Linked DNA regions of Homo sapiens: region 2 is linked to region 1. Evidence: promoter capture Hi-C in human tissues and cell types (Jung and others, 2019). All regions are on one chromosome and are shown on one strand. Each heading gives the region's core, a stretch centred on a gene start or on the middle of the fragment in contact. The rest is flanking DNA. Distances are from core to core; before and after follow the strand shown. Region 1 holds the start of PYROXD1 (pyridine nucleotide-disulphide oxidoreductase domain 1). Region 2 has its middle 13 kb from the start of C2CD5-AS1.

Region 1 (3,169 bases), core at 386-2,885:
AGCTGCCTCTGCCACAAATACATTGTAACTAATCATCTTTCAAGCCTTTTCATATGATCAAGTTACTCCACTGCTCAAAAACATTTGACTACTTGTAAATTCTTGTTAAGTTCTCAGCATGCTAAGACTCCTTATGATCTATGCTTTAAGCTTTACTGCTCCCTGATGATCCATGCTTTTCCACTGGAGATGACATTCTTTTCTTGAATACTTGGTAAACTTTCACTCATTCTTTCATAATGAGATTTTAAAAATACCTTCTTTGATTAAAAAAATTTCCTCTTCCCTAATTCACTCCCTACATACTCCACAGGCACCTCTAAGATAACCGTTGATATCTCTTGCATAGACATACAATATTGTAATATTGTCTCTTCCAGCAGGCTGTGAGTCCCCAGCATGGTATATACCATGCTGTTCATAGTTGAACACTCAGCCCTTAATACGGTGCCTGCATCATATATGTTTACTTAGTGAATAAACGGAAAATACGCATCCAACGATGGAAACACTTGAGTTTCTTCCACTATTTCTTATGACTTCAGTGATTGCTCATGTTTACTTTATATCAACAAAATAATGTAGAACTTTTTGGAATACACACATGTATCTGAATATATATGGTCTGGCTATTCAGTATAATCAAGAAAGCAAGCCCTACATGCATTTAATCCTTCGCTGATTATTTTACAAAACTTTACTAGAAATAAAGTTTCTTCTATCTTGGGAGTTCGAAGTATAGAAAACTTACATATGGGATTCTTTATTAATTAGTTAAGATGCACTAAAGACTTGGCAACTATCTGGAAACTAAACTCAATCACCTACGATAATTAACAAAGGGGGCTGAGGGCCGGGTGCTGTGGCTCAGGCCTGTAATGCCAGCACTTCGGTAGGCGGAAGCGGGCAGACTGCTTGAGCCCAGGAGTTCGAGACCAGCCTGGCCAACATGGTGAAAGCCCGTCTCTACTAAAAATACAAACATTAGCGGGGCGTGGTGGCTGGCGCCTGTAATCCCAGCTACAGGCTGACGCAACAGAAGAATCGCTTGAACCCGGGAGGCAAAGCTTGCATTAAGCCAAGATCGCACCACTGCCCTCCAGTCTGGGCGACAGAGTGAGACTCCGTCTCAAAGAAAAAGAAAAAAAAATAAAAAGAAAGGGGGCTGAATTTTTTGTCTAAATACAAAGTCCTCATGTCTGCTCTGACATTACAAGGATCTGAGCACGGATCAGCCAGCTTTGGTTTCTCGGCTATAATTTGCCTCCCACTCCTCCCTGCGCCTAAGAGAAAGCTAGTGAGGTCATCTGAGGACCACCAAGCAGTTTCTAAAATCTGGGAGCAATAAGTGCGGAAAAGGGCGCAGCAAAAAAGGAACCCGGAAGAAGAAAAAGGGAGGGGGTGGGAGGAAGGCCTCCAGTGCTATCCCCTTTGGGGTCGGGGAAAGAGGCGGAACCGCCTGAGCACCGCCCTACCTGCTCCGCACAAGTGACGCCCGCGATGCCGCCGCCGACCACCACGAACTTCCCTGCCGTCGGGGGAGGGCGCGCTGCCTCCATGCTGCCGGACTCCCAGTGGTTTACTGAATATCGCGGCGGAGCAACGGGACTCTGGACTCCAGGAGAGGAAGCAGCCGCGAGGCGGTCACTTCCGGTGCCTTACCAGATAATCCGACCTACGGGTGCTCGGGAGCTCACACTACTCATCTCGAGTACCTGCTGCCGGCTGCGTTTCGGAAGCAACGAATTGTCTCGTGGTGTTCAGAGCTTTGCGTTACTATTACTACACCTGAATGTAGTTATTCCATGAAAATTTGACAAAGAGAAAACCAAAAAATTAAAAATAAAAAAGTAAAGAAGATGGGTTGCCCAAAGAAGTTTGATAAATTACATATCTAAAGATAGACCAGTGTTCTCACGGGACAAAACATTCATATAATAAATGAATTGGTGTGAAGTTCTCATTATTTGTTTCTGCGAGAAATTAGAGGCACAGATTTTATGCTCTTATGAGTAGAAGGAGCCTTCGGGAACATCCTGACCCCACTCCTGTCATTTTTGTAGATGAAGAAACTTGAGTCTTCTGAAAACCACTTGATTGCCACCGTTCACCTAACAATCCAAGATTTTTGTTTGTGGAAGCACAAAAATTCTTCATGACAAGGCAAAACAATACTACTGAATTGTTCTCTAAAAAATCATCCTTTTCATTTACAACTTTGACCTCAGCTAAAGTTTCCAGGAAGAATGTACAGTTGCTTTCCATTTTGTCAAAACAAATGAACATTTCTTAAATTTCCAGTCAATAGCAGCATGTGTGAGGGTTGAATGAAATATTCCCAGTCTCGGTTTTACTGTGAATTTTTTTCGTGGTCAATTGTTTTTAAGAAATTGCTAAATCATTTTTAACTGTTTTTACTATATTATTCACTATTCATATTATTTTACTATTTACTATTACCTTTGCTGTCTCATATAACTTTCCCTAGGAGTTGTTTTGTAATGGTAAGGTATTATCTCTCAAATGGTTCACTCTAAAACTGGTAATTACCCGAGTCCCTTTAATTCTTTAAACACTGAGAATAACCATTATATATTAACAGGAAAGCCTACCACGTATCTAATTACAGGCATTTACTGATACCTGTAAAAATCATTGTTCTTTGATTTACCAAGTTAAATGGTAAGCGGTTTAATAAACGTGTCTAATTCCTGTTACTAGTATAGCAACCAAACAAAGCATTCATTTCTAGGAGGAGGAAATACATTCCTTAAGCCCATTTAGATCTCATCTTGCTTCAGCTTATTTTCACATTATCTCACTCACACTGTGTTCCATTCAGGCCACACTACACTTCCAGATCCCAGGATATGCCATTTTCTTTCTGAGCATTTGCACATATCTTTTTCCCAACTACTTTTCCCTGGCTAACTCATCAACCTTTGGTTTCATCAAGCCATTGCTTCCCCTTTAAGATACTTTATCTAACATCCTCAAGACAGCTAGGTGTCCTCTCCGTGTGTTCTTATAGCACTTTGTCATCCTCTAAATTTAGACTTATCCCACTTTATTGTAAATTCTTACTGCCTGACCCCACCACCACCATAAACTGCTTACATAATCTCAGGGATTATTTTTGTCTCCCTTTGTATCTCCAATGTTTAGTAGG
Region 2 (3,169 bases), core at 171-2,670, 1.1 Mb before region 1:
TTGGCCAGATGATGACATGAGAAAAAGGGCAAAACTAGTAAGCTGGGGGAGGACAATAACATCAGGGATTCTGTTCAGGAATGTTAAGTTAGAAATACCTATAGACATCCAGTCTGCAGGACAATGATTCTTGATTTATATATGAGATATAAACTTCAGAGTTGTGAGCATAGAAATAAGATTGAAAGCCATGAGTCTAGATGGAATTTTCTAGGGATTTAGAGCAAATTGAGAAGATCCAATAACTAAATTCTGAGACAGACACTTCAATGTTTAGAGCAGCTGTTCTCAAAGTATGATCTGTGGTCCCATGGGGTTCCCTAAGACTCTTATATGGAAACCTGGAGGTCAAAACTACATTTTCATAATCATACAAAGATATTATCTGCCTTTTTTTTTTCTTTTTTTACTGTGTTGACAATCGCACTGAAATACAAAAACAATGGTGGGTAAATTGCTGTCACTTCAGCATAAATCAAAGACAGTGGTACTAAACTCAATTAGAAGTTATTATATGCTTCACCACTGTTGCTCTTGTAGTTAAAATGAAATGCCAACTATTGTTCTCGTAGTTTAAAATGAAAATGTAAGAATGCCTCTGAGGAGAGAGTAACCATTCCTGATGATCCTTTATTACACATCTATTTATTAACAATGTTCAGTGTAAAAACATGGAAACTTCTCATAAAGTACTTCTGGTCCAAAGTAAAATACTTTGATTGGCTCAAGGAAAGACACTTGTGCCATTGTTTGAATTGAAGGCTGGATGACTTTCTTTATGAAACACATTTTTTTATCTGAAAATCAACTAACAGAAAAATTAGGTTTATTCAAACTTGGGTTTTTGGCAGACATTTTCTTGAAAATAAACCAAGTAGGCCGGGTGCGGTGGCTCACGCCTGTAATCCCAGCACTTTGGGAGGCCGAGGTGGGTGGATCACGAGGTCAGGAGATTGAGACCATCCTGGCTAACATAGTGAAACCCTGTCTCTACTAAAAATACAAAAAAATTAGCCGGGCGCGGTGGCGGGTGCCTGTAGTCCCAGCTACTCGGGAGGCTGAGGCAGGAGAATGGCGGGAACCCAGGAGGCGGAGCTTGCCGTGAGCCGAGATCGCGCCACTGCGCTCCAGGCTGGGTGACAGAGAGAGATTCCGTCTCAAAAAAAAAAAAAAAAAAAAAAAAAAAAGAAAGAAAATAACCAAGTGACCTTGTCACTTTAAGGAAAACAACTGACTGTATTTGTTGCCAGTGATAACATTTAAACTTTCAAGCAAAAATTTTGGAAGATTTGCCTCTGTAAGCTTGACAGCTTCCCAATATTGTCAGGTGAGATCAGTAGTGATATTAGGAAATGTGATTTTTTGATATTATATAATGAGATGTGTCAACATTTGAAAAATCTGCATAATTCAGGGAACTAATATTTTCTAATTGACCAATGCATAATGTTACAAAATCATGAATGGGTAAAAAAGCCATTTAAAGTGCAGGATAGACAATAGATTTTCACATAACTGAGTACAAAAAGTTTACTGATACAGCTTTAGATTGCACTTTACAAGTGACCTTCAAGAAACTACCACTTGGAGTTCAAGTACAAAATCAAAGGGGGACATCCAAAATTATTTCAAAAGACTATTAAAATACTCTTCCTTTTTCCAAATATATTACCTAAGTTAGGTCAGATTTTCTTCATATCCTTCAACCCAAACAATGCATTAGAATAGATTGAATTAGAAGGAGAAATGACACTCCAGCTGTCTTCTTTTAAACTAGAATAGGAGTGGGCAAACCTTTTCCATGAAAGTCCAAATAGTTGATATTTTAGGATTTGCCTGCCATATAGTCTCTCTTTGTCACAAATATGCAACTCTTTCATTGTAGTGAGAAAGCTGCCACAAATACTGTGTAAGTTAATGAACATGGTTGTATTCCAATAAATATTTATAAAAACAAGCAGTGGTCTGAATTTGTCCAATAGGCTGTAGTTTGCAGAACCTAGCCCCACACTAGACAGTAAATACATTTTCAAAACTATAAAACAATACCAGTTTTCTCACTAATTTGTTTTGAAAAACAGTTTTTTTCATAAAAATTGTACATAGGTTTTGAAAATGTAGCTATTTTTTCATAAAAATTGTATTTCTGTTAACATGTAGTGGGTTTCTAATTATCATACTTAAACAAATTAATCAATAATTCTTTTCAAGTCTCAACTTTAATTTCTGATACAATCATAACTGATAGATAAAAGCCACATAACCAAAAGCTCTTTGAGAGCTTTAATAATTTTTAAGAATGTAAATGGGGCCTTGATACCAAAAAGTTTGAAAACTACTGGTTTATAGGCAGGAGACATGAGAAGAAATGAGTAAATGAGACAATGGAGGAGTGGCCCATTGAGGAAGGCAGACAACTGGAAATGGGATATCCTGGAAACCAAGTGAACAAATTGTTTCAAGGAGGAGAGTGTGAGACTAACTGTGTCAACTGATAATAGCATCATCAAAATGCTAATGGTAAGGAGGACCAGGTCCAGTGGCTCACACCTGTAATTCCAGCACTTTGGGAGGCCGAGGAGGGAGGATCGCTTGAGCCCGGGAGTTCGAGACCAGCCTGAGAAACATAGCAAGACCTTATCTCTGTAAAAAATAAAAAAACTAGCTTGGTGCTGTGGCACACCCCTGTGGACCCAGCTACTTGGGAGGCTGAGATGGGAGGATCACTTGAGCCCAGAAGGTCAAAGCTGCAGTGAGCCATAATTGTACCACTTCACTCCAGATACTGGTCTCAAAAAAATGCTAATGATAAGGAACCAATAGACAGGGAAATGTTAAGCTTCAAGAGACAGAAGGGCTAATCACTCACTGTAGGACACTGGAGAAGAGGAAGGCATCCAGGGCACTTGTCTTTGTCCATTTGGGTTGGGGAGGCCTTTGCTGAGGGTGAGAAGACCTCATCTACTGGCAAAGAGGACTAATCAGAATTTAGGGACTCAAGGTCCCCAGGTTCATCAGGGTCTACCCACATGTCCCCATTCCAACTTATAGGATTTCATTCTTTCCCAGTTGGTGCCTATACTTTGACAGTAGATACCCTACACTATAGGAAATAAGGCTGTCCTTTATGGCACACCTAGAAGCTCTTAGGTTATTTATGCTGTGCTTG

Evidence for each region. The method cuts DNA at HindIII sites, captures the fragments that hold promoters and counts their contacts. A contact is called where the count stands out against the background at its distance.
Region 2: a contact is called between a fragment that was not itself captured here and the fragment with the promoter of PYROXD1 in region 1, in 1 of the 25 tissues and cell types used here (H1 embryonic stem cells).

Annotation. Positions count from the first base shown.
Region 1 is chr12:21,436,121-21,439,289 of GRCh38, reverse strand. It overlaps PYROXD1 (pyridine nucleotide-disulphide oxidoreductase domain 1), which reads right to left and starts at 1,635. Exons shown (of 12, transcript NM_024854.5): 1 at 1,476-1,635. The coding sequence starts at 1,559. RefSeq lists enhancers at 1,487-1,676, 1,727-1,806. The HindIII fragment of the contact is 3,974 bases long and covers 610-3,169 here.
Region 2 is chr12:22,563,691-22,566,859 of GRCh38, reverse strand. No RefSeq gene overlaps it. Among named protein-coding and RNA genes, the nearest start is that of C2CD5-AS1, 13 kb to the left of the region's middle. The HindIII fragment of the contact is 4,924 bases long and covers 1-3,169 here.